7 separate regions of the Homo sapiens genome follow, and regions 2, 3, 4, 5, 6 and 7 are each linked to region 1. Evidence: promoter capture Hi-C in 16 types of primary human blood cells and fetal thymus (Javierre and others, 2016). All regions are on one chromosome and are shown on one strand. The core of a region is centred on a gene start or on the middle of the fragment in contact, and the rest is flanking DNA. Distances in the headings are between cores, read along the strand shown. Region 1 holds the start of NDEL1 (nudE neurodevelopment protein 1 like 1). Region 2 holds the start of LOC124903920 (a long non-coding RNA gene). Region 3 overlaps PIK3R5 (phosphoinositide-3-kinase regulatory subunit 5). Region 4 holds the start of LOC124903919 (a long non-coding RNA gene). Region 5 has its middle 11 kb from the start of MFSD6L. Region 6 holds the start of TRL-TAG1-1 (tRNA-Leu (anticodon TAG) 1-1). Region 7 overlaps PIK3R6 (phosphoinositide-3-kinase regulatory subunit 6).

The links. The method cuts DNA at HindIII sites, captures the fragments that hold promoters and counts their contacts. A CHiCAGO score of 5 or more calls a contact.
Region 2: a contact is called between a fragment that was not itself captured here and the fragment with the promoter of NDEL1 in region 1, in 8 of 17 cell types (naive CD4 T cells, fetal thymus, naive B cells and 5 more). The highest score is 10.4, in naive CD4 T cells.
Region 3: a contact is called between a fragment that was not itself captured here and the fragment with the promoter of NDEL1 in region 1, in 1 of 17 cell types (monocytes). The highest score is 5.4, in monocytes.
Region 4: a contact is called between a fragment that was not itself captured here and the fragment with the promoter of NDEL1 in region 1, in 3 of 17 cell types (naive CD8 T cells, naive CD4 T cells and total CD8 T cells). The highest score is 5.7, in naive CD8 T cells.
Region 5: a fragment that was not itself captured here is called in contact with the fragment with the promoter of NDEL1 in region 1 in 7 of 17 cell types (monocytes, M2 macrophages, M1 macrophages and 4 more); the score reaches 10.6 in monocytes.
Region 6: a contact is called between a fragment that was not itself captured here and the fragment with the promoter of NDEL1 in region 1, in 4 of 17 cell types (erythroblasts, megakaryocytes, total CD8 T cells and 1 more). The highest score is 12.5, in erythroblasts.
Region 7: a fragment that was not itself captured here is called in contact with the fragment with the promoter of NDEL1 in region 1 in 1 of 17 cell types (monocytes); the score reaches 5.2 in monocytes.

Annotation. Positions count from the first base shown.
Region 1 is chr17:8,433,668-8,437,187 of GRCh38, reverse strand. It overlaps NDEL1 (nudE neurodevelopment protein 1 like 1), which reads right to left and starts at 1,304. Exons shown (of 9, transcript NM_030808.5): 1 at 1,143-1,304. RefSeq lists silencers at 751-990, 1,031-1,230, 1,331-1,500. The HindIII fragment of the contact is 3,991 bases long and covers 86-3,520 here.
Region 2 is chr17:8,894,506-8,897,910 of GRCh38, reverse strand. All of the region lies in intron 5 of PIK3R5 (phosphoinositide-3-kinase regulatory subunit 5), which reads left to right. It overlaps LOC124903920 (a long non-coding RNA gene), which reads right to left and starts at 725. Exons shown (of 3, transcript XR_007065611.1): 1 at 635-725; 2 at 325-490. RefSeq lists enhancers at 2,771-2,970, 2,981-3,050. The HindIII fragment of the contact is 540 bases long and covers 1,283-1,822 here.
Region 3 is chr17:8,915,656-8,919,348 of GRCh38, reverse strand. All of the region lies in intron 1 of PIK3R5 (phosphoinositide-3-kinase regulatory subunit 5), which reads left to right. Among named protein-coding and RNA genes, the nearest start is that of PIK3R5, 48 kb to the left of the region's middle. RefSeq lists silencers at 2,956-3,025, 3,456-3,505. The HindIII fragment of the contact is 9,333 bases long and covers 1-3,693 here.
Region 4 is chr17:8,876,936-8,880,839 of GRCh38, reverse strand. It overlaps PIK3R5 (phosphoinositide-3-kinase regulatory subunit 5), which reads left to right. Exons shown (of 19, transcript NM_001142633.3): 19 at 54-1,924. The coding sequence ends at 201. LOC124903919 (a long non-coding RNA gene) reads right to left here and starts at 3,458. Exons shown (of 3, transcript XR_007065610.1): 1 at 2,536-3,458. The HindIII fragment of the contact is 927 bases long and covers 1,083-2,009 here.
Region 5 is chr17:8,786,135-8,790,015 of GRCh38, reverse strand. No RefSeq gene overlaps it. Among named protein-coding and RNA genes, the nearest start is that of MFSD6L, 11 kb to the left of the region's middle. The HindIII fragment of the contact is 602 bases long and covers 1,290-1,891 here.
Region 6 is chr17:8,119,859-8,123,691 of GRCh38, reverse strand. It overlaps HES7 (hes family bHLH transcription factor 7), which reads left to right. Exons shown (of 4, transcript NM_001165967.2): 2 at 566-661; 3 at 1,262-1,349; 4 at 1,655-3,100. The coding sequence ends at 2,121. TRL-TAG1-1 (tRNA-Leu (anticodon TAG) 1-1) reads left to right here and starts at 3,297; the gene lies at 3,297-3,378. TRR-TCT2-1 (tRNA-Arg (anticodon TCT) 2-1) reads right to left here and starts at 2,767; the gene lies at 2,680-2,767. RefSeq lists silencers at 1,512-1,621, 1,842-2,301, 3,242-3,451, 3,822-3,833. The HindIII fragment of the contact is 3,122 bases long and covers 744-3,833 here.
Region 7 is chr17:8,852,210-8,855,849 of GRCh38, reverse strand. All of the region lies in intron 1 of PIK3R6 (phosphoinositide-3-kinase regulatory subunit 6), which reads left to right. Among named protein-coding and RNA genes, the nearest start is that of PIK3R6, 14 kb to the left of the region's middle. The HindIII fragment of the contact is 7,845 bases long and covers 1-3,640 here.

The sequences.
Region 1 (3,520 bases), core at 55-2,554:
TCTTCAGCCCATGACTTAACGCTGCACTGTGCCCATCAACTTCACGATTTAGCAAAGCAATTAACCAGCAACTCCTGAACAAGCTTCACAGGAAGATTTTTCTCATGACTGAGCAGCCGTTTTTATCCTAGGTGAGTTTTCTCAAAAATAATTGAGTAAGTAATCTACCAGCTTCTGGCATATCTTTGGCAAGTCACATTTTCTGCCTTGTTTTGTAGCTGAGAAGGGTATAAAAATCCCACGAAAAGAAACCAGAACTCCGAGCCTAGAAATGTAAATTATGATCCAAGCTAAACCACTCACCAGTTGGTTGAACCTAAGTATAAATAATTACCCCCATCCCAGCTCCATTTACCCATCGAAATGGCGATAACATAATCAGTTGCAACCACAAGGTGATGCGGTTAGAAAAAGATAGGAAGAAGAGTGCTCTGAAACGTGTAAAGGTGCTACGTAAATAGAAGGTAATAATCAGTGGTGACAGAACTCTCACCTCCTTTGCAAAACTTAAAGGGTCATCTCATGGCTTACAGCAAGAAAAGAGTCGAGCACAAGTAACCCGAGCCCGTTGGTGACACTTTGCCGAACTCCAGGGGGAGGATGATTAGCAGTTCCGGGCGGGAGTCAGGAGAATGCCAATCCGAGCCCAACGTGGGCTGCTCGCGCTCTCGCCCCCCATGGGAGAGAGGCACTGAGAGATCAAAATGCAACCCCGCTCCAAGCCACCCTCGCAAATGAAGGAATTTCGAAGAGGGGGTAGGAGGAGGCGGGCTGGGCGCGCCGCTGCCACCTCCGACTGGGCCACTCCTTGCGCCGCCAGCGCCCCAGCCCACGGTGCCACGTCCCGGCCTCCGTCACCGCCAGCCCTCACCCTACCCGGAACGGGGCACATCTTCCGGAGGCCACCGGAATCGTTCCCTTGCAGGCGCCCCTGGGGGGCCACACATCGGACCAGGGAAGGGAGGGGACAGTTAGAGCGGTTGGAACAGTTGCCCCCAGGCTGGCCGCCCCGGAACCCGGCCCGGCCCGCCCCGGCGGAGCCTCAGACACGGCCCCGGGCCGGGAAGGCTCCCCAAGGGCAGGCCTCGGCGCCGCCGGCCCAGCGCAGCCCCTTAGGGAGCGGCCCCGCGCTGCAGGCTCACCTCCAATGTGTCAAAAGCGCATGTTCGCCGCCGCTCAACCGACGTCTCCCCTCCGCCGGCCCGGCCAGGCCCGCCCAGCCGCTCGGCTCAGCTCCCCTACGCAGCCCCGAGCTCCACTCAGCGTACCTCCGCGCCCGGCTCCTCCCCGACACGTCAGGGACTGCCTGGGTGTCCGAGGCCATTCTGTGACGCACGGGGGCGGGGCTCGGAGCATGCGCGGCAGCGCACGGGTATGCGGGGCGGGGTGGGGCGGGGCTGGTGTCACAGGGGGCGGGCCAGAGCCCGGCGCGCTGACGCCAAGCTGACGGCGTCCTCTTGCGCAGGCGTCCTCTTGCGCAGGCGCTCCTGGACTCTGCGACCGGCTGGTTTTGGCTTGTGCAGTTCCCTGAAACTGCTATTCGGGAGAGTGGTGCCAAGACGGATGGGAACCTGCCTTCAGTTTTCTGGCCACCAAGGCCCTTCAAGTGTCCATGTGTCTGTGTTCCCGTTTATAAAATGAATCTCGGCTCATAGTTCACCTCCGAGTCCATTCCCCCTGCTCGAACACCCAATGGAACATCAGGAGCATTCTAAGCATCACTCTCACAAAGCTCTGTGTTGTTTTTACAGAACTTCCACTGTTTACATTTTGTATTTGTTCTCATCTTCCTCCAGTAGAATTCTAAGTTCTATGAGAGCTAGAACCTCTTATGCCTTGCTCATCCCAACAGATAACTTGGTTCTAGGCAAAGTGGACGCTCAAATATTTGATGAATGAATGAATGGATTCGTTGGCACAAAGGGGATTTTATATTTGCCCATTTATATATTGTATATATCTGAGCATATATTCATTTTTGTATACATGCGTGTACGTGTGTGTATGGGTGTGACTTTCTCCCCTCCAGGTCCCCCAAGAAATGGAGTCCTATGTGTATATATATACCTCTTACAATCCATCTTGGTTTTTGTTTGTTTGTTTGTTTGTTTGTTTTTGAGACGGAGTTTCGCTCTTGTTGCCCAGGCTGGAGTGCAGTGGCGCGATCTCGGCTCACTGCAACCTCCGCCTCCCAGGTTTAAGCAATTCTCCTGCCTCAGCCTCCCTAGTAGCTGGGATTACAGGCGCCTGCCACCACGCCCGACTAATTTTTGTATTTTTAGTAGAGACGGGGTTTCACCATGTTGGCCAGGCTGGTCTCGAACTCCTGACCTCGTGATCCGCCCGCCTCGGCCTCCCAAAGTGCTGGGATTACAGGCGTGAGACACAGCGCCCGGCCCCATCTTGCATTATTAATGTTTATATATTTTTAGTACGTAAACACACACGTGTATGTGTGTGTGCGCGCGTGTGTATTCCCTAGCGGACTTGGAAGCAAGCTGGAGACGATACTAGCCCAAAAAGGAGGGAAAGAGGGATAGGCAACTTACATAGGGAGTGGAAACTTAAAGGAAGAGATACATTTTAAAAACAATTTTAAGAACTTTTGCTGTATAATGTACAAGGTAATCCTTTCCTTTAGGAGATGGGGTCTACTGTGTTGCCCAGGCTGGTCAAGAACTCCTGACTTCGGCCAGGCGCTGCAGCACTTTGGGAAGCCGAGGCGGGCAAATCACCTGAGGCCAGGACTTCGAGACCAGCCTGGCCAACATGGTGAAACCCTGTCTCTACTAAAAGTACAAAAATTAGCCAGGCATGATGGTGGGCACCTGTAATCCTAGCTACTCCGGAGGCTGAGGCAGGAGAATCGCTCGAACCCGGGAGGCGGAGGTTGCAGTGAGCACCACTGCACTCTAACCTGGGCGACAGAGTGAGACTCCGTCTAAAAACAAACAAAACAAAACAAAAAAGAACTCCTGACTTCAGGCAATCTTCCCACCTCAGCCCCCCACAAAGTCCTGGGATTACAGGCACCAGCCTCCATGCGGCACGCAATGTAATCCTTTCCAATTTCAGTGCTTTTAGGATTGGATTTGTGGGTGTGAACACAAAAATAATGTGTAAGACATGCCTCAAGGTGAAAACAAAGTGAGCCTAGGAGGCCCAGTTTATATTTTTGAGGGCGATGGACATAAACAGGAACAATGCAAGATGGATTGTAAGAGGTACCCAAATCAATAAAGATCAGAGAAGGGATTAATGGGGTTTGTGGGAAAGGTAACATATTACATATGCCTATTATGAATAATATTATGAATAATATGCATATTATGAAAAAACTATGCATGGATTTCCAATTTTTTTTTTGCACAGGGCCAAGCATGGTGGCCCATACCTGTAATCCCAGCACTCTGGGAAGCTGAGGTAGACAGATCACTTGAGCCCAGAAGTTCGAGACCAGCCTGGGCAGCACAGTGAGACACCTGTCTCTAAAAAAATAAAATAAATGTTTGCACCAAAA
Region 2 (3,405 bases), core at 303-2,802, 460 kb before region 1:
TGAAGGCAGGCCAGCATTGGCATGGTGGCCCCATGAACATCCTGGACCAGCCTTCCCTCATCTTTCCACTCCACCATCCTTGGCAAAAGTCACCATCTTCAAGGTTGCTTCTTGGTCTAGGATGGCTGCTGGAGTGCTGGCCATCATGTCCACATTCCAGTTAACAGAAAGAAGGAGGTGAGGGGGGTTGCACCTAACACATTCTGCAAGGGAGGTTGAGAAATTGACTCATCAACTGGGTACAATGCCCAGTGTCCCACTCATAAAAAAACGAGGAATGGATATTGAGTAGATGCCTAGAAGTCTCTGCCACATATGACTTACTTGTAAGAGTAGCCCATAAGGCCTGGATTGGTCCTGTTAGGGTGACTCTCACCAGGGTGGTGAAAGGGTGTTATGAAAGGTCTCATCTCAGTTCGCCCCCACAAGCCCGGTGGCTCTGCAAAGCTGGAGACCTCATCCCACAGGCGTTTCCGTGGGGTCACTGCACCTGTTCAGAGCAGCATATGTCTTGTGGTGGCACTGGCCTTTCATTCCAAGAACTCACATCTCCTCTGCCTGCATGAAGGCCTGCCCAGTGGGTTCCTTCCCCCCAGTATTTTCCTCTTGGCTTTCTAGCCACATTCCTTCTCACCTTCCCCCTCTCTGCTCCTGGACTCCCGGTGGCCAGAGATTCCGAGCCTCCCTTGTTATGTCTTCTCCTTTGTTTATTCACCTGAAATCCGTGCTTCACCTTCCTGCCCAGGCCCTGCTGAGGCCCACAGCCATGAGTCCCCAATTCCTCCAGCCTCTCTGGAGTCCAGGACCCTGGGGATGGGGAGCAGGAAGGCGCTATACATGGGACCCCCAGTGAGGAGGGAAGTGTAAGAGAAACCCTGCTGTGGGGAGTGGTGTGCCTGGTGTTTGCTTCAGGGTATGAGGTAGGTCAAACTGTCCACCATGAGTTGATATTAATCATAGTTGCTGGAGAACCAAACCTGATCTAGTCTCATTTGGAGATTGCAATGCCGTTGGGGCCGGGCTCTGCTTCCACCCTGTTGATTCCGTGGAATCTTGGTGTTCCCCTTGTAGGAGGAAACTGAGTCAGATGTGGTTGCTCCCTGCCTCCCCCAGGCTCAAGTACCCACATCACCCTCAGCATGGACCTGTCTATCCGTGTGTCATTAATACCAGTGCTTGCTTGATGGCAGATGTAGTGATTTTCCTGTGTCCTGGATCTTCACAGTCTGCTGTTCTGTGCAGGATCCCCATCTATTTGCAACTTTGAAAAAGAGTGGAAGCTTTGATGGGTGAACAAGGCTTAATGGCGAAGGGCCTTGGACACCTGGGCCAGGAGTTTGAACTTCACTATGAGTGTGTTCTGCCCACTCACCCCGTTCTTCGCCTGTATGGGGTGACTTCTCTCAATTTCTTACTTGCTAGAGCCTGACGTAGGAACAACCCAGGCAAGATTTTTGTTTAGCCCTTGCACCAATCTTGATCTAAGAAGCTAAACTCAGAAAGTTGTTTCCATCTGCTAAGGTGACCAAGAAAGGGTGTGATCTAAGATCAAAGGGAGAGAGGTGTCTGTGGATCTGAGGCTCCCCAGTGCAGCCTCCCTGTTTGGGGAGTGGAGGGTGGAGTTAAGGGTGGTCTCGAAACTGACATTGCACACCCCACTTAGCATTCATGGCCTCCCTGGCATCACCAGGTAACATTGTGAAAACCAAGCCCATGGAGGGTGCTGGGAGATATTTCCAACCTCACAGCACATACCAGCAAATGGGGACTCGGCAGTACAATCTCTAAGCCAGGCTCAAAGGAGTCAGTCTGTACAAAAGCTTATATTATCAAAGCCTCCTCCACATTGCACAGTCTTTTCTAATGTGTTCCCAGCTCAGGCCCCAGCCCACCAGTTAATTACCCCAAAACCCCACACCCCATGCTAAGCAGGGAGGTCCATTACCAAGAGAGGCCAAGGAAGGGGGTTGATGGTGTTTTGGGGGTGAGGGCGGGAGTTTATCTGATGATCATAGGTTCTGCTTGGGAACTGTTGGTACCTTGGGTATTCAGCACCAGCCAAACAACTCTGAAAATCACTCTCTCTGGGTCAGAGTGTGCCAAGAGGCACAGGTATCCTCCTAAATATCCCCCATTAAAGCAACGGGACACATAGAGCAACAGTCGCGTGGAGTCCACGTAGCTCATACGAAGCAGCTTCTGATTCTAACTGTAGCACAATCCTAAAATGAGACTAAGGCACACGAATATAGATGTTAGAGACTGCTCCTCATCCTAGAGACAAGAGGAGACGAAGGAGCTTCAAGGAGAAGGTTGTCAACAGTACCAAGCACTCCAAAACAAAAGTTCAAGCAGCGTGAGGATGAGGTTGGGCCGTTGGGTATGGGGACGGGGAAAATGTTGCCAAGCTTCAGGAGAGCAGGGTCAGGAGGGCAGAGGGGTTGGAAGCCAATGGCTGGGCGTGTTGGAAGAAAGCTGATGTGGAGGGAGAGCGACGTCAGAGTCTACTGCTTCCTGGAGTATGACCGCCTGGATGTCCTTGGTCAACAGAGGCAGAAGTGGCGGTGAAGAAATGGGGTCAGCGGGGTGTGGGTTAATGTTAAAAGCATTAAACAGTAAAAGAAAAGAGAAATAAGGTCAAGAGAAGATTTTGCGTATCTATGTGTTTTATGGTCAGGGAGATGGGGAATATCTGTTTGTCTCCGCTATGGTAGCTATGGTATTATGTAGAGGTGGTTGGAGAGCGGGTGAGGATCTCTTCTCTGTAATGCACGTGAGTGGCCACCAGATGGTGTCCCAAGTCCTGATGTAATAGCCACTGTGTCAAGGACTTATCTGGCAAAATGGACCAAACGTTAACTTCTAAATATGCGATGATTACATAAAGTAAACATCACGCAAAAGGCCAAAAATCAAAGCAATTAGGTCCCAAGTTAGAAGAGCATTATGTGGTAATTTTCTGCCTTTTACTAAAGGAACCTCACAGCCTTTCTATTTATAGCTGTCTTTAAACCCCAACCCCCGCCCTACCCCGCCCCCGAGACTTGCACTTCTGAGGGGACGTCCTGCAGGTTCCCAGCTCAGTCCCAGTTCAGAGTGGCCCTGCTCTCGATGGGGACTGCCCTGGGCCTATTTCCAAGCTATGACAAGAAGGCGACCCACCCCGCTGGGTCCCCAGCCCCTGCTCTGTGAGGGAGTGAACTCCCGCTTTCTGTTTCATCTCCTTGTCATGGTGGAAACAGAACTGAATGCACACTGTAAAGCGACTACTGTGCACAACAGAGTCAAGCTGCAGAAACAAAAGGAAAACCTTTGGTGTGTTTCTTCTCAGCATTTGGAAGTCAGAGGAGACAGAGAGGGGGAAGGGCCAGGGAGAAAGGGGATGCGGGCTGGGAGAGGAGCCTG
Region 3 (3,693 bases), core at 921-3,420, 480 kb before region 1:
GATACTGAAAGGGCATAAGGCTATGTAAATATATAAAAGGTCTTAGAGCCATGTCTACCATTCACTCAGCTTCCTCTAATTAACAACTTACATAAACATGGTGCAGTTATCAAAACCAGGAAATGGTCACTAACAGAGTACTATTAACTAAACGACAGACCTCATTTGAATCTTAGCATATTTTCCCCCTAATGTTCTCTTTCTGTTCTACAATTCAGTACAGGATCTCACATTGCATTTAGCCTTTGTGTCTCCTTAGTCTCTACCAATCTGTGATAGTCCTCTATCTTTCCTTATCTTTGATGACCTGAACACTTTGGTGAGGACTCACCATAGTGAATGTCTATGTGGTGAGTAATCACCATATAGAATGTCTCCAAACTGGGTTTTGAATGGTGTTTTCTCATGATTGTAGTTATGTGTTTTTGGCAAAAAAACAAAAACAAAAAAACACAAAGAAGTGACGTGTCCTTCCCTTCTCAGTGCATTACAGCAGGGGATACATGATGCTGATATGTATAGCTTATTGCTGGTCATGTTAACCTTGATCATATGGTTAATGTGCTGTCTGCTGGGTTCCTCCACTGAGAAGTTCTTGTTTTCCCCTTTATAAGTGGTAATTATTTGGGGGGAAATACTTTGAGGCTATACAAATATCCTATTTGTCCACAGATTTTCACTAACAGATTTTTAGCATTCATCAGTGGATCTACAATTATTACCATGGTGTTTGCCTAGTGACAATTTTCTATTTCTCTCATTCCTCTCACATTATTAATTGGAATTCTTTTGTAAAGAAGACCTGTCATTTCTCCTCCATTTATGTTTTTATTCAATTATCTATAACATTTAATTATCTATAATTATCTATAGACTTGTGGGTATTTATTTTATTCTATGAGTTATAATTCATCACTTTCTTTGTTCATTCAAATTGTCCTAGCTGTGGCCATTGGAAGCTCCTTCAGGTTAGACCCTATGTCCTTTTGACACTCCCCATGGTTTTTCAAATATTGACTTATTTTCTGGCACTACAAGATGTGCTGGGTTTATTTTGTATATTTCCTGTTTCAATCCTAGGATCAGCCATGTCTCCAAGGAGCTCTGTTTCCTTTTATTGGAAAATGGTATTTAGAAACCAAGATCTGGGCACTAGGTGTGCTTGTTGCTACTGGGATGTCATTGCCTCTGGGCTTTCTCTGTAGACAGAACTAGAAAATGTATGTATGTGTATTAATCCAAGCACATACATCTTTTTAAAATTTTTCTATATGTATTTATCTGTATATACATTAAAAACCATGAGTTCATACTGATTCTTTCAAGTCTGGTCCAACTCCACAAGGTTCATTCCAGCCTTCCCCCTTCTTTATTTGTCACATCTTTCTTTAGCTCTTATTATCTATGGTTTATTCACTTATTTGTCTAATGCTAGTGTACACATAAAGAACTTTCAGATTTCTTTCTTTTTTTTTCTTTTTTTGACATGGAGTCTTGCTGTGTCACCTAGGCTGGAGTGCAGTGGCACAATCTCAGCTCACTGCAACCTCCGCCTCCTGGGTACAAGCAATTCTTCTGTCTCAGCCACCCGAGTAGCTGGGACTACAGGCGCACACCACCACACCTGGCTAATTTTTGTATTTTTAATAGAGACAGGGTTTCACCATATTGGTCAGGCCGGTCTTGAACTCCTGAACTCAGGTGATCCACCCGCGTTGGCCTCCCAAAGTGCTGGGATTACAGGCATGAGTCACCATGCCCGGCCCCGAACTTTTAGAATTTTTAACTCACATTCATATGAGAAACATATTTAATAACTGGAAAACAGTATTTGTCTATAGTTTTTATTTTTGACTTTGACCAGTATCCAGTCAAAGTACCATTTTACAAAGTTACTGAAGTTAGTGCTTTCATTCCCTATCCCCGTCAGTGTGGTTATGTTAGTAATTGATTATACAGTTAGGTTAATTTGTTATTGCTTGTCTCCCACTTTTGGTCCCCTGCCCCCATATTCTGGTTGATTTCGATTATTTATTTAATTTTGGGTATGTAAAATATCGCCATGGTTCTAAGCGTTAAAGCTATACACACAGATAATCCTCAGAGAAGTGCTGTTCCTCCCTCATCTCCAGTTTCATTCCTTGATCCTATCCACCCTTTTCTCACCTCCACCTCCCATAGTAACTAACCAATCTCCTTAATTTCTGGTGTATCCTTCCTGTGTTGGGAAGAATTCTTTTACTTAGGTCACGGTGGAGATTCTGCCTTATGAAGGCATGAGGAAGGGACTGGGGCAGAGAAGGGAGAGTCAAGCCTCGGAAGGTAAGAAGCAGGAGAGGGAGGAGTCATCCAGGACGGAAGCAGGCTGGGTCAGCCCAGGACTGCATGGGCCTAGAATATTCCAGAACACCAGGAAAGCAGTGTGGAGAGCCAGCCAGAACCTGGAGGCCCCCTCCATATGAGATGCAGGCCCTCTAACTCCTCCTTTCATTACTATTTAGAAACCCCCAAGAGGCTCTCCTCCCTGCCCCATCGTGGGCTGCCTTGGGAAGCTGGACCCAGGCAGACCCTACACCTCCTCTGACCAGCCCTGCACCAGAGGGAAGATGAGCCCTCCACATCATGGCATCCTGTCAACATGGGAAGAAAAAGTGGAAGCAGGACTGGCTCTCTCTGTGCCCTCTGGGGTCCCACCAACCCACCCCGACTCCAGGCCTTTCTGCCCCATGCAGGGTCCCCAGCAAGGACTATGAGTCCTCTTTGCTGGCTCAGAAGAGGAACTTGGAGATGGGGGAAGGCCCTGTTGTTGGATATTTCAACACCACCTCACCACTGGCAGGGGAATTGGTGGCGGGGGCGGGGGGGCGGGGGGCGGCATTCCCGGCAGCAGCTGGAATTTTACAATGGGAGCTCCTCTCAACAAGATAGGGAGGGGGCTTGGGAGGGTGATGCCAGGGAAGCCAGGCCCTGCTTGCCCAGCTTTTGAAAAAAGGCGTCATGCTGGGAGAGCGGGTGCCACTGTCTTCCCCCCTCACCTCTGCCCCAAAGCCGTGAGGTTCTGCTGACAAGTCATAAGAAACAGCTGATGACTGACTCAGACGGAAATGAGCGTGTCAAAGGGGTGGGTGGTGAGCCCGGTGTGCTGGGTTAACCCCCAGGGCAGCTCAGCTGAGGGTCCCCTGGCTGGGTTCCCTCTCCCCATCTCTCAGGCTCCCAGGGGCTAGTGGCTCAGGCAAGTCCTGCCTCTGAGAAGAACTTGGGGCGAGCTCGAGAAAGCCTTGGAATGCCGGGGAGGCTGGCACACCAGAATTCCACCAGTGCCTGAGGATATCCTGCCCTTCCGTGGAGAAGGCTTTGATGTGTCCCTTGAGCAGGGTGGGGTTGGGGGGAAGGGGCACACCGAGGCCAGGAGATGGGAAAGTCACAGGCGGCCCCAGAATGAGAAAGAGAAGCCATGGGCAGTCAGGCATTGGGTGCGGTGTGCTAGCAGCAGTCCTATGGCACTGTGTTCTGCCCCCTTAAGGACAGGAGTGTGCAGAAGTGGTGTTGGCTGAGAACATTCATTTGCATCTTGTGTTTGCATCCATTACAGTGTGGGACACGTAATGAGTGAGCAGGATGACTCACTCCTGCTTCATGGCATAACCAGCTTGGCCATCGCAGCAGGGGCTGGGCAGAGGGGTCTTAAAACCC
Region 4 (3,904 bases), core at 297-2,796, 440 kb before region 1:
AGCTGGAAGGATGGGGGCCTGCTCTGATCCCTGGCCCCTGCCCTGCTGCACAGATGTGAGGTCTCACCGTGCTACAAGCCAGAGAAGAGCGACCTCTCCTCACCACCCCAGACGCCTCCTGACCTGCCGGCCCAGGCCGCACCTGATCTCTGCTCCCTTCTCTGCCTGCCCATCATGACTTTCAGTGGAGCTCTGCCCTAGTGTGGGCCCAGCGCCAGACTGGACAGAAGCCCTGGGGCAACCTCCTCGGCCACCCCTCCAGGACAGTCCCTCTCTGTGGAGAACTGAATGGCCCTGTGCAGAGCCATAGTCCCACTGTGGGTCCTGCAATGAGCAGGGGCTGGGAGTAGAGGGTTTCTGGGGCCTCAGGGTTCTGGGAAAGCAACAGCTATCAGAGAGAGAAGGGCCAGACCCCATAGCCTCTTAGATTCCTGGCAGTAGAAGGAGAAGGATGGGTAAATTGACCTCTGAAGTCCCTGACCATTAGCATGGTCTAGGATCCTTTCTAGAAGGAAGATCTGAGGCTCTGGTGCTCAGGGGGATGGCTTGGGCCTTTTCTCTCAACCTTGGCTGAGCCTACCCCTTACTTTGCCAAAGACTTGAGGACCCTGTATGTCTGGAGTTCAGTCCCCTCCTCTGTGGGGCTCAGGTGATTGAAATGTGGATGAAACATTTCTCTACTTCAAGACCACCTCTCCCTGCAAACACCACACACACATGGCATGCATGTACGCACATGCGCACACACACACGCACACACCTCAATAATTTCTCTCAAGTTTCCTGAGTCTCCAGAAAAACAGCACTAACGCTGGACCTGTCTACTCTCAGAACCCGGCACAGATTCTCTCTTGATCTCCTTTTGGAATCTGAGATTCTTAGAAGACAGGATAGGGTTAAATTTAGTAGCAGCTCAGTTCTAGCTAAATCACTAGAGGAAGTTAATTAACTTTAAGCCTTCATTTCTCCAGCACTAAAATGGAGTGGAGAGTTGGGGTGGAAATAAGACATCCTTAAAAGGTTAAATTGTCTGCAAAGCACCTAGCCCAGTGCCGAGCTCCCAGTAGGTGTTCAGTAAAGCTTAGTGCCTGACTTTCTGAACACTGATTCCTCCTGTTTGGAGTCACTGGGATACTCTCATTGCCGTTGGGATGTTCCTCACTCCTTCCCAGTTCGTGGCTGAGGCAGAACCCAGACTGAAGAGGGAAGAGACATTCCAGAGGAGGATTGCCTTCGTCAGGGTAAGGGGTGGGCTGCTCAGGGGCCCTACCCTTCACCCCCTTCTGTATCAGATTGGCCCTCCCACTCCCATCTCACTCTGCGTGTACAATCTTCCATATCCGCAAGTTCACTGGCACTCTTCTGGCACCTGGGCAAGATCCCAGAACAGAGGATGGAGTGACTGGCCTCACAGAGCTTAGTGCCCGACTCAGGGGAAATGGGACTGGTGCATGGGAAATGGTCAGCCTAGGATAGGACACGAGAGTCTGAAATTCAAAGCAACCAGCTTGAAGTGGTTTGAGAAGCTGGAAGCAAACATGGGCTAGAGAGATAGGGCAGAAGTCAAGACGAGGATCTGGACTGATGTGGAGAAAGTAGCCACGGAAGCATGAACTGTATCCTGCACAAAGTCCCTCTTCCCCGCCTCCTAATTCATTATGCCCAAAAGGCCTTACGTGAAATTCCAGCCCAGAGTACTCATGACTTGAGAGACGTGGACAGAGCCAGCTTCTACCTTGCCTGGCCGTCTCTCCCCTGTCTTAATGTCTGCTCTTGCTCTAAGCTCCAGAAGAGTGGCGGGCCATGTATCTTCAATATGTTTTTGCTGTATGGGCAGGTTGTCTTATTATGTGATCAACAGATGTCCAGGAACTAATGAGTGGAATTTAATATTATTGTCAAATAAAACTTGATTTGTCCTATATTTAATGACCAGTAGTTACTTTGCTGCATGACCCTGCTAGTTGGACAGTTTATATAAATCATTTTATTTATACCAGAAAGAAGCTTCATAGGGGATTGTTTTATTTCTCTTTTTGTAATTTTCCACCCTATAGAAAATATATTTGGGTGAAAATTTTCCCCAATACTGTTCTGCTTAAGCCTCATCATACTCACTGACCCACAGAACAAAAATTCCTACACCTAAGGACTCAGCATTTGGGGTTTCCTGTGCTACTTCACTTGAGAAATATATACCCATATATCCATCTGTTTCCTGTACCCCAAGCTCCAGGGAGGGGACGGGCCTGAGGCCGTTGCTGCGGATGGGTGGCACAGTGGATCCTGGACCTACCATGCAGCTGAGAGGAGGGGAAGAGAGCTCAATAATGGCCCTTTGGATCTGGGACTGCCTTTAGACTTGGGTGATAAGGAAAGAGAGAAGAAGAAGTGGAGGGATGGTAGAGGACACCTGTGGCTTGGGAGAGGGAGGTAAGTACCAGGTTGCCAGAACACTATTCAGGATGGAGGGAGAAAGAACTGTGAGCTGTTCCAGCTCTGCATCAGCTGGCTATTGCAAACAATGAAGCATACCTTCAATTCAGGGAACTAAGTCTCCGATCATTTGTTCTTGCTCATGCATCTGGAGGACATCTAGGGACCACCTGATCTAGGCTGGGCTCAGAGTGGCTTGGCTCCAAGCTGCAGGATGGGTGCAGATCTGCTTCGTTGGTCTTTCAGACACATTGGACCAGCATGAGAGGCAAGCAGAGACACGCGATGCCTCCTAGGAATGGAACCTGGAACAAGAACAATATTCCTTCTGCCAATAATTGGCTAACACTGATGAAGCACATCAACCCACAGACTTAATAAACCCAGCAAATTTTGCACAGGAATTTTGACACAGGAATCTCCACACAAGAAAAAAACAAAATCACATGAGAAGTGCACTTTACCTTTGATGTTCTTTCCATAACTCCAGTCTAATCAAGAGTAAAAAAGATCATATAAACCCAGACTATGGGACCAGATAACCTGACCAGTACTCTCTTACTGTCACAAAAAATAAGGAAAGACTGAGAAACAAAAAGAGATGGAGTAAACCTGAAAAATAAGCAGTAGACACTGGCTTGTATCCTGAAACATTAATCCAAAAACTGGTAAAATCCCAATACAATCTGGAGTTCAGTTTTTTCTTAAACACACACACACACATACACACACACACACACACCCCTTACTGTCAAACTTCTAAAGAAAAAAAGGTAATAAGAAAATACTAAAGACAGAGGAAAATAATACACTTTATCTTCAAAGTAGCAACAATTAAACTGAGAACTCTCTCTTTCAATAGAAACAATGGAAGCCAGAGATGATGAAATGATATCTTTAAAGTATGAGGGGAAAAAACAAACCTACTAACCTGGAATCACACACCCAGAATTGTCTGATAATACTTTTTTAAAAAAAACTTATAAACTGCAGCGGTCGGGCGCAGTGGCTCACACCTGTAATCCCAGCACTTTGGGAGGCCGAGGCAGGCAGATTACGAGTTCAGGAGATCGAGACCATCCTGGGTAACACGGTGAAACCCCGTTTCTACTAAAAATACAAAAAATTAGCCGGGTGCGGTGGCGGGCACCTGTAGTCCCAGCTACTCAGGAGGCTGAGGCAGGAGAATGGCCTGAACCCGGGAGGCGGAGCTTGCAGTGAGCCGAGATCGCACCACTGCACTCCAGCCTGGGTGACAGAGCGAGACTCCATCTCAAAAACAAAACAAAACAAAACAAAAAACTTATAAACTGCTCACAAGGGACACACTTTAAATATAACATCACAGAAAGGTTGAAAGCAAAAGGATGGAAAGAATCACACCATGCAAAACCAACCAGATCAAAAAAGCTGGTGTTAACACACTAATATCCAAAGATGCAAAACCGGACCAAAAAAGCTGGTGTCA
Region 5 (3,881 bases), core at 341-2,840, 350 kb before region 1:
TGAGGTGTTGCAGAGTCAGAGGCTGTGATAGAGGGAAGTAAGTTCAGAGTGAAGGCCCTGGGCTCAAGCGTTCTTCAGGTCACCCTTCCTTCATAAGTATGTACTGAGCAAGGCTGTGATCCTTCAGGGTGCTGGGTGAGTCTTTAGGAACGCGTCTACCACTCCCTCCTGCATAACGTCACCAGATGCCTCCCACATCTTCCCGGGGTAATTAATGTCACCTCCCAATGGCTTTATGCCATTCTGCACATTTTGTTCACAGGGCCGCAATCATTGTTTGGGGATGCACATGTGAACTACCCCCCCCGTCCGATCGGAGTAACACTCAACGGACTCTCTCCCTTGGATATGAGGCCGATGCTACCCACCCTGCCTATTTGTGCAGATGTGAAACCTTGAACTGCACTTTGTTTCTATGACAAAGCCTGCCTGGGAACAATACTGACAATTTAGAAGGAAAGGCCGAACCACAAAACCATGTCCACAAACAGAATGGGACAGGACAACGTAAATGTCAAGTGAGAAGTTTAAATAGTGAGCATTTCTCTCTGGGCAGACAGGACAGCTGAGCGCAGGGACCTTCTGAAAAGACCCTCATGGAGTTTATGAAATAAGCCGGCGTATGGAGGAAGGACTGGGTCGTAAAGTCTTAGACTTCAAGCTGTGACTTTCACTCTATTACCTACTTTACCAGTAGGTCAGTTAAGCTTTACAGAATCAAAAGTAAATACAATTCTCAGCTCCTGATCTTGTAGCTGTTAAAGATATTGAGTTTGACCCTCTGACATGTCTTGGTTCCAGCTAAGAGGAATGTAAATATTGAATGAGCCATTAACCATCATGCTCAGGTTTACTTAGACCACTATTTCCCAACTGAGTTTTGCAGAACATGCAATCCTAGTGGTGTGGAGGGTTGGGGAGAGCATTACATAAGGATTCTGTCTGTGGTCAAACAACTTTGGAAAATGATGTTAATTATTGTCACCTTTTAGAAACTTGCAATACCTGTTAGCAATTAAAGACTCTCAAAAGCCTGCAGTCAACAAACTTGTTTCTCTCTCTTTGACCTATAATTCCCCTTATGTGGTGTCACAGCCTTCTTCGCATGTAACACTAATCACGATCTTTCAGAACTAGTGTTCCCTAGAAGACCCTTTGAAAAATGCCATTTGTAGTTTTCTGGATGATCTTTTCAACCCAATAGAGTTGATGCCAGGGACAAATCTGGGCTCCCACACCCAGACTAGCAGGAATCTTGTGCGTCGGGCTAATAAGAGGTGGACAAAGCTTATCTCATTAAGTCAGACCATCAAATTTATGAAATAAGATATTAGTATGGCCTCATTGTACAGGTGACTTGACTAAGGTTCAGAAAGGTTAAAATTCGAAACTAGATCTATCTGACCACAGAGTCCGTCCTCCCAACTGCTACATTCAACCAACTCAGGCAAGTGAAGAGGCTCTTCCTAGCAGGGGAGCAATGATCAGGGATAGGGGCACAATAGAGATAACACACCAGATACGCGTGTAGATTTCACAGGAGATTCATGGAAAATAAAGTTGGAAAGAAGTGTTGGAACAGATTGTGAACTTCCTAAGCCTCAATCTAAGGGAAACAGAACTCACACTGGTTGAAATTTGCTTCTGCTCTTTATGCCTCACACCTGCACACAGCAATACTCATAATCCTCATACTAATCTCAATTTACAGTAGGGGAAACCAAGGCTCAGAAAGGTCAACTGACTTAGTTGCCCATGGTTGCGACTATTAGATGGTAGAGCCATGGTTTGAACCCATATCTGGCTGCTAGAAATCCACGGTTGTTCCTCTGAAGACTATGGGGCCTCTAGAAGAGAAGATTTGACTAGCCAATGGAGAGGACTGAAAGCTTTTAACTCTTGCCTGTTGCGAAGTGAACAATGAGTCTGAGTTGGTGGAGATTATGGGTGCTGAGACATTTGTTTTGGACAGACCACCACAACATTCCAGGCAAGAAGAGGCTGCATCCCAAAAGGTATGAGAATCAAATGACAACATAGTATGTGTATTGGAATTTCAAAAGTGGAATCAACAAGACAGCCCTTGGTTGTTTATTGGATAATGGGGCCGCGGGGATCAACGAAGAAGGAGTATCAAGGATCGTGGATGATTTTGTAATTTTGAACCCATGTGATGAGGAGGAAATTCTGCAGAAATGGCAGAGCCCGGGAGCCCATGAAGCCATCCATCCAAAACCTGAAACCAAAGCTCAGATCATAAGAATTATAGACAATACAGGCCGGGTGCGGTGGCTCACGCCTGCAATCCCAGCACTTTGGGAGGCCAAGGCCGGCGGATCATGAGGTCAGGAGATGGAGAGCATCCTGGCTAACACAGTGAAACCCTGTCTCTACTAAAAATACACACACACACACACACACACACAATTAACCAGGCGTGGTGGCGGGTGCCTGTAGTCCCAGCTACTCAGGAGGCTGAGGCAGGAGAATGGCGTGAACCCGGGAGGCGGAGCTTGCAGTGAGCTGAGATCGCGCCACTGCACTCCAGCCTGGCAGCCTGGGCGACAGAGCGAGACTCCTTCTCAAAGAAAAAAAAAAAGAATTATAGACAATACAGCAAAAACTCCTCATCTGCTAGCTTCCTTCTACAATTGCTGACTGTCACTGAGACCAGAAGCCCTGCCACTTGGTGATGTTTGTGATGTGGAGCAAAGCAGAAGGCATGCTCAGCATCCACTGGCTTTCCACAGCCATGTTCATGAAACCTTTATCTTTTTGCTAGCCTGGCTGTGAAATGGCTTGGAGACATGAGGCTCCACTGGACTGAAGTTCTTTCCAATCCTGGGAGCCTGCGGTGCACGACAGAAACGTGACTGGTGAGGTGTTGCTGTGGTTTGAATATTTGTCCCCTCCAAAACTCATGTTGAAATTTAATCCTCTATGTGACAGTATTGAGAGGTGGGACCTTTAAGAGGTGAATGGTTCATGAGGATGCTGCCATCATGGATAAGTGAATGGGTTAATGAATTAATGGGTTATTATAGGAGTGGGGCAGGTGGCTTTATAAAGAGAGAGACCTGAGCTAGCATGCCTAGCCCCCTCGCCACGTGAGGCCCTGCAACACTTCGGGACTCTGCAGAGAGTCCTCAGCCTGAAGGCCCTCACCAGATGTGGCCCCTTCACCTTGGACTTCTCAGCCTCCGTAACTTTAAGAACTAAATTCCTTTTCTTTCTAAATTACCCAGTTTCAGGTATTCCATTATAAGCAACAGAAAACGGACTAAGACAGTTGTCATCTGCTACAGAAGTAAAACTTAAAATATGACCCCTGGGCAAGTCACTTACCCCACTGGGTCTCAGCTCCCATGTCTGAAAAATGAGGGCCTTGGTCTCTGTGACCTTCTAAGTTTGTGCCTCTCGGCCTTGACGTGATTCCCTCCTTTGGGCCAAGGGCACACCAGCCCTTCTCACCCTGCAGAATAGCATAGCATTCTGGAACCCGAGAGATGCTGGGGCCTGGAATGAAGGTTCATCTCCTTCCCCAGAACCTGGCAGAAAGTTCCTGGTCTGTGTGCAGAAGGACCACATTGAGCCAAGACACCAGCCCTATAGGCCAATCGATCTGCCCTCAAAGCCAGGGTCTAGGGAGTGGTGGGATGAGCCAGAGGGGGCAATCTGTGGTGACTGGAACTTGGTGTCTGGTCGAGGCCTGCAGCATGGGGGGCTACTGCGGAAGGCAGAGGTCTGGGTAGGCACCTTCAGGGCGGGGCACCTTCCTATTGGCACTCAACGTTCCCTTTAGCTTTGTTCATGTCGACCCCCATAGGCTGCAGTTTTGGACACTTGCATCCCCTCTGCCCTTTGCAAGGGGCAGGCCACGC
Region 6 (3,833 bases), core at 1,055-3,554, 310 kb after region 1:
CTCTGGCTGTGAGCCGGGCGGGGCTGGCCCAAGGCGGTCTTGTACAGAAGGTCCCGGGGCGTTGGTTCCAGAGGCCCCAGACTGGTGGAAGATTTTAGGAGAACCGTGGAGAAGGTGAAGGCCTGGAGGGTTTTGAGGGAAAAGAGGCGGCGCGGTCGCGCTAGGTATCTCCCTTTCTATACTCAGGGCCGCCAGGTCTGAGCCCGGCACCGTGCGGCGCACGTGCGTGCGCGCAGAGAGTCCCCAAAGTTCTCCACTGAGACAAAGAGAAACTGCACCAGACGGAGACGTAGAGAGAAAAGAGGAGGAGAGACACAGAGAGGGGAGGAGGGAGGACGAGACTGAGAGAGGAGAATGCGAAGATCCGGGGAGGCGAGCTACAGAAACTGATCTAGGGGCATTGGGAGGGGGAGCGGAGAGGGATCGAATGGGGCCGGCCCTAGGCAATCTGGGGTCTTGTGGCCGGGGTGGAAGCCGGGCTCTCCCAGCGGCGGGATCCGACGCCGGGGCGGCCGCACTGAGTCTCGGTCTGGTCGGCCCGCTCTCCTTTTCTCGCTGGTCGCAGATGCTCAAGCCGCTTGTGGAGAAGCGGCGCCGGGACCGCATCAACCGCAGCCTGGAAGAGCTGAGGCTGCTGCTGCTGGAGCGGACCCGGGACCAGGTCAGTCCCTCCGCTAGCCCTAGGTCCCCAAGCTTCCCGTTTCCGCGTCCCAGGGCTTCCCACTGGGGTGGGGACACAAGCTTGGTTGGCAACCCTGGCCCCAAGGCATCCTCACCCGAGTCCCGCCTTTGGAATTCCATCCCAGACCCCCACTCGCTCTCAGAACGCGATCTTCTTCGCCACCCCTCGGGTCTGTAAGTTTCACGCCTGGTTCTGTAAATTTCGCTCCCGGGGTCGGTCAGTTTCACCCTTTGGGTCTCTAAGTGTCCGGTTCCCCCTCCCCCACAGCCAGCCTCTGATGAGCCAGCCTCTGTTATGTCGGGTGGTTAATTTCATTCCCTGGGTTGCGGTTTCAAATCTCCTCCTCACGCGTTGGGCATTGGTTCCAACCCCTAGGATTGGACAGTTTCGTCTCAGGGTGGGCCAGGACTTTCCTTGGTCATCTCCACTCCGCATTTGGTCGCGCGTTCTGTGGGCAGTGCGCAAATGCGATCGGGGGCACCACCAGCTCCCGCATCCGTCCCTCCCTTCTTCCCCCTGCCACTTTCCCCCTTTCTCCCCACCCCTTTCTGTCTCTGCGCCCTCCCCTCCCGTCTGTAGAACCTCCGGAACCCGAAGCTGGAGAAAGCGGAGATATTGGAGTTCGCCGTGGGCTACTTGAGGGAGCGAAGCCGGGTGGAGCCCCCGGGTACAGCGCGGGGGTGGGGCAGCGGAGGGAGGGAGGGGGGACGCCAGGAGGCTCCGGCCGGGGCAGAGTGGGCGGGCCCTGCGGTGGATGGTGGGCTTGGGGAGTGGCCGGTTCTGCTCCGAGGCGAGGTTAATAACACCCGCGCGTGTCTGTCTCTGTGTCTCCCTCATTTTCTCCCTCTTTCCGTCCATCTGGCTTCCTGTCTCTGTGCGCCTGTCCGGCCTTGGTATCTCTGCGCCCCGCCCCTTCCCTCACCCCTGCCGGGCCCCTGCCCTGCCCACCTGTGCTCCCGCCGGCCGCACCAGCCGCCGCGGCTCCAGGGGTTCCCCGGTCCCCAGTCCAGGACGCCGAGGCGCTCGCCAGCTGCTACTTGTCCGGTTTCCGCGAGTGCCTGCTTCGCTTGGCGGCCTTCGCGCACGACGCCAGCCCGGCCGCCCGCGCCCAGCTCTTCTCCGCGCTGCACGGCTATCTGCGCCCCAAACCGCCCCGGCCCAAGCCGGTAGATCCGAGGCCTCCAGCGCCGCGCCCATCCCTGGACCCCGCCGCACCGGCCCTTGGCCCTGCGCTGCACCAGCGCCCCCCAGTGCACCAGGGCCACCCTAGCCCGCGCTGCGCATGGTCCCCATCCCTCTGCTCCCCGCGCGCCGGGGATTCTGGCGCGCCGGCGCCCCTCACCGGACTGCTGCCGCCGCCACCGCCGCCTCACAGACAAGACGGGGCGCCCAAGGCCCCGCTGCCCCCGCCGCCCGCTTTCTGGAGACCTTGGCCCTGAGCCTTGGGGGGTGGTGGGGGCGGGGTCTAGGGGTGGGGTAGAGACTCCAGCCCGAGGGCAGCAGAGGGACCCGGGCGTCCGGGCGAGCAGGTGTTGGGGAGGGCAGTGGGGCGCGCGGGCTCAGCGCGCGGGTGAGATGTGGTCTATATTAGAGTATCTATATAAATATATATTTCCCTGGTTCCTGTCCCTTTTCCCTGCCCCAACTTCTCCCTTGCGTCTAGGATTGTACTCTCTCTGCCCCTCAGCCCAGTCCCAGTCCCTTCCCGAGTCCCTAGTGCATGGAATAAAGTGGTTATTAAATCCCCGTGTGTCCCCGAGCCAGGGGCCTGCCTTTATCTCGACGTCCACGCCCACTTTCCCTTCCCTTCTGTCTCCCACCCTCAGTCCTGCTCTCCATGGCCCAAGCCCCGGGGCAGACAGGTAAGTAAAGAAGAGAGCAGAGCGGGAACTGAGATCGAAATTGAAACCAGGTGGAAAGAGAGAGATAGGGTAGGGGGAGAAGGGATGGGGGCCTTTAAGAAAAAAACGGATAAAAAGGAAAAATTGAAATAAAATCGACTCTGGTGGGATTCGAACCCACAACCTTTGAATTGCTCTATTCGTCACTAGAAGTCCAATGCGCTATCCATTGCGCCACAGAGCCACCCGACGAACGGCGGCGTCTTGTAGCTTACGGGTACTAGAGTGGGAATGGGGCAGGGTTGGGGAGCGGGGCTAAGGGACTTGGGCGGGACATGCCAGGAGGGCGCGGTTTGGATCTCAGAGGCCAAGCCAGGTAGAGGTAGCGGGCGCAAAGCATGTTAGCCAGGTGAGAGAGAGGGCGCACATGGGTCGAAAAAACAGGGAGGGAGAGCAACCGAAAATGGCTGAGCGAGCGAGTGCAGAGCTCCGGCTGCCCGCTTGGGGGGTGTTTCCGGCTCAGGCGCTCCCCACTCCCAGATATAGTCCCACCCAAATAAACTAGTTTTGTTGTAAATTTCTGTGTGTTTTTGTCTCTTCTCGTTTATCTGTTCTGCCATCTGCTGCTATGCGGTCCACAGTCTCGATGGTTCTTCATTTCCAGTCTAAAAGATGTGGAAAAGGAGACGAATCAATTTGGCACTCTTAAGATTTGCCCCATTCCTTACTTCTAGTCTCTTAGGAGGACAACGGGGACAGTAAGTTTTCGTGCAGGTAGCGTGGCCGAGCGGTCTAAGGCGCTGGATTTAGGCTCCAGTCTCTTCGGAGGCGTGGGTTCGAATCCCACCGCTGCCAGGCTGGAGTTTTTCTGGTGGATTACGCACCTGCTACAGTTCTGTTAACAGTTCTGTGAGGTTACACCTATTTACATGCAGAAAGTAATTTTACGAATTCCCCTGGTAATGGTTTCACCATCATCTTCCGTGTTTGGTCTTCCAGAGAGATCATAGGCCTGCATCCATCCCAGAAGCTAAGACCTGATGGTAACTGCTGAAGCAATATTTCGTTTCTTCATAACATCTCTATTATTTCGTTTCTTCATAACATCTCTATTTTAACATGTTTTCAAATGTTAGCTCAACTTCCAACATATTTAAATAATTTATTGTACGTTCTCTTAACACTGTGTTATAGGACTCAATTATCCGGTAGGAAAAGCACAAATAATTGGTAGTGTCCTAGTTTACTTTTTTTTTTTGTCGTATTATCTTGGGTCATAGGAGTATCCCCTCTGTGAAAATCAATTAACA
Region 7 (3,640 bases), core at 266-2,765, 420 kb before region 1:
TTATTTCTCTGGAGGAAAAAGCTAGGGATTACGGGATCATACAGTAAGTGACGCATAACTTTATGAGAAATTGTCAAACTGTTTTCCAGAACGGCTGTGCCATTTTGCATTCTCACCAGTAACGTATGAGAATTCCAATTCCTCCTGACGGGTTGATGGGTGCAGCAAACCACCATGGCACGTGTATACCAATGTAACAAACCTGCACGTTCTGCACATGTATCCCAGAACTTAAAGTATAATTTTTAAAAAGAGAGAATTTCAGTTCCTCCGTGTGCTCTCCAGCACTTTCTATTGCTCATTTTAAAATCTTAGTCATTCTAATAGGCATATAGTGAGATCTCATGGTTTTCATCTGCCTTTCCCAAACTGCTGATAGCATTGAGCATTTTTTTAATGTGTTTATTTGCCATCCACATATCTTTTTTAGTAAAGTATTTATTTAGATCTTTTGCCCATTTGGGGAGTATTATTTGTTTTCTTACTGTTGAATTTTGAGAGTTATTTATTTATCCTAGTTTTCTTTTTTTTTTCTTTGTCAGATGTGATTTGCAAATATTTTCTCTAGGTCTATACTTTGCTTCTTCATTTTATTTTATTATTTTATTTTATTTTATTGTTGTTTTGTTTTGTTTTGTTTTGTTTTGTTTTGTTTCTGAGATGGAGTCTCGCTCTGTCACCCAGGCTAGAGTCCAGTGGCACGATCTCAGCTCACTACAACCTCTGCTGCCCGGGTTCAAGTGATTCTCCTGCCTCAGCCTCCTGAGTAACTGGGATTACAGGCATGAGCCACCACAGCCAACTAATGTTTGTATTTTTAGTAGAAATGGGGTTTCACTATATTGGCCAGGCTAGTCTTGAACTCCTGACCTCAGGTGATCCACCCACCTTGGCCTCCCAAATGTTGGGATTACAGGTGTGAGCCACTGTGCCCGGCCCGTTTTTTCATTTTGTTAAAGGTATCTGTCATAAAACCAAAGTTTTAAATTTTGATGAAGTCTAATTTGTCATGTTTTTCCTCTTATGGATCATGCTTTGGTATTGTATCTAAAAACTTCTTCCTTCACATGAGGTTACAAGGATTTTTTCCTATGCTTTCTTCTAAAAGTTTATTGTTTTGAATTTTACATTCAAATCTATGTCCACTTTTAGTTTATTTTTGTGTAAGGTCTGGAATTTACGTCAAGGTTTTGCTTCTTGTTTTGCATATCGATGATCAATTGTTCCATCACCATTTGTTGAAAAGACTCCTTTCTCCATTGACTTGCCTTTACAACTTTATCAAAAATCAATTAGCCATATCTGTGTGGGCCTGCTTCCGAACTCTTCGTTCTGTTCCATTGATTTATGTGTCTAGCCCTTCACTAATAACTTTATAGTAATTCTTAAAATAAGGAGTGCGAAGCTGAGCGTGGTGGCTCACACCTGTAATCCCAGCACTTTGGGAGACCGAGGCGGGAGGATAACGAGGTCAGGAGTTCAAGACCAGCCTGGCCAACATAGTGAAACCCTGTCTCTACTAAAAATACAAAAATTACCTGGGCATGGTGGCGTGTGCCTGTAGTCCCAGCTACCTGGGAGGCTGAAGCAGGAGAATTGCTTGAACCCAGGAGGCGGAGGTTGCAGTGAGCCAAGATCACGCATCGCACTCCAGCCTGGCGACAGAGCAAGACTCCGTTTCAAAAAAAAATAAAAATAAAGGAGTGTGAGTTCTCAGGCATTATTCATTTTCAAAACTGTTTGGCTAATCCAATTCCTCTGCCTTTCCCTATAAACTTTAGAATTGACTTATATGTATCTACAAAAAAAAATCCTGCTGGTATTTTTATTGGAATTACCTTAAATATGTAAATGATTTTGGAGAGAATTGACTTTTTTTTTTTTTTTTCAGACGGAGTCTCTCTCTGTCACCAGGCTAGAGTACAGTGGCATGATCTCAGCTCACTGCAACCTCCGCCTCCTGGGTTCAAACGATTCTCCTGCCTCAGCCTCCCGAGTAGCTGGGACTACAGGCGCATGCCACCACACCCAGCTAATTTTTTCCATTTTTAGTAGAGACAGGGTTTCATCATGTTAGCCAGGATGGTCTTGATCTCCTGGCCTCGTGACCTGCCCCCCTTGGCCTCCCAAAGTGCCGGGATTACAGATGTGAGCCACTGTGCCTGGCTGAGAATTGACATCTTAACTATACTGGGTCTTCCAAACAATGAACACAGTATTTCTCTCCATTTATTTAGGTCTTCTGTGATTTATCTAATTAGCATTTCATAGTTTTCATCATATGGCTCCTGCACGTTTTGTTAGATTTATCTCTAAATATTTATTTATTATTTTATTATTATTATTATTATTTTTTTTTTTTTTTGAGATGGAGTCTTGCTCTGTCACCCAGGCTGGAGTGCAGTGGCACAATCTCGGCTCACTGCAAGCTCCACTGCCCGAGTTCACACCATTCTCCTGCCTCAGCCTCCCGAGTAGCTGGGACTACAGGCACCCGCCACCACCCCTGGCTAATTTTTTGTATTTTTAGTAGAGACGGGGTTTCACCATGTTAGCCAGGATGGTCTCCATCTGCTGATCCTGTGATCTGCCCCCCTCGGCCTCCCAAAGTGCTGGGATTACAGGCGTGAGCTACTGCGCCCCACCTAAATATTTATTTAAAAAAAAAATTTGGAGCTATTGTAAATGGTATTGTATCTTCCGAATTCAGCCAATACAGATGTACACCATAATTTTATAACTGCATAGTATTTTGTTGCACAGATTAATTTATTTACTTGGTACTCTATAATTGTGCCTTTATTTTTTTTTTCTGGTTGTACTCTATTGTTAACAATGTTTTAATGAATGCTGTTGTACATATCATTTATCCATTTGTCCAATATTTCCCTTCAGATAGGTTTTTAAAGGTCGAATTGCTTAGACAAAAAAGTATGAATATTTTGAATTTTGATAAATATTGTCCAGCAATCACCCAGAAAGGCTATACTAATTTCTCTTCTCACCAACTATGTATGACTGGAAATTTTCTCATATCCTATCCTTGCCAATACTGGATGTCATTATCTTTTGTCATAATTTTTGCCACTCTCTCTCTTTTTTTTTTTTTTTGAGACAGAGTCTCCCTCTGTCACCCAGGCTGGAGTGCAGTAGCGACATCTTGACTCACTACAACCTCCACCTCCCAGGTTCAAGTGATTCTCCTACCTCAGCCTCCCAAGTAGCTGGGATTACAGGCACACGCCACCACACCTGGCTAATTTTTTTATTTTTTAGTAGAGACGGGGTTTCACCACGTTGGTCAGGCTGGTCTCGAACTCTTGACCTCATGATCCGCCCACCTCGGCCTCCCCAAGTGCTGGGATTACAGGTGTGAGCCACCGCACCTGGCCTGCCACTCTCATTTTAATATTCATTTCTATGATTGTCAGTAGGCTGAAATTGTAGTACATTATAATTACAATCCATTGCTGAATTCAATGAGTTGATATCTACTTTTAAATGTTATATCGATATTTGCATGTAAGTGTGGTCTAGTTTGCTATTTTGGTAAAATATGGATATGTAAAATTTACCATCTTAACCATTTTTAAGTATATAATTCAATGGCATTAAGTACATTCACAATATTGAGCAACCA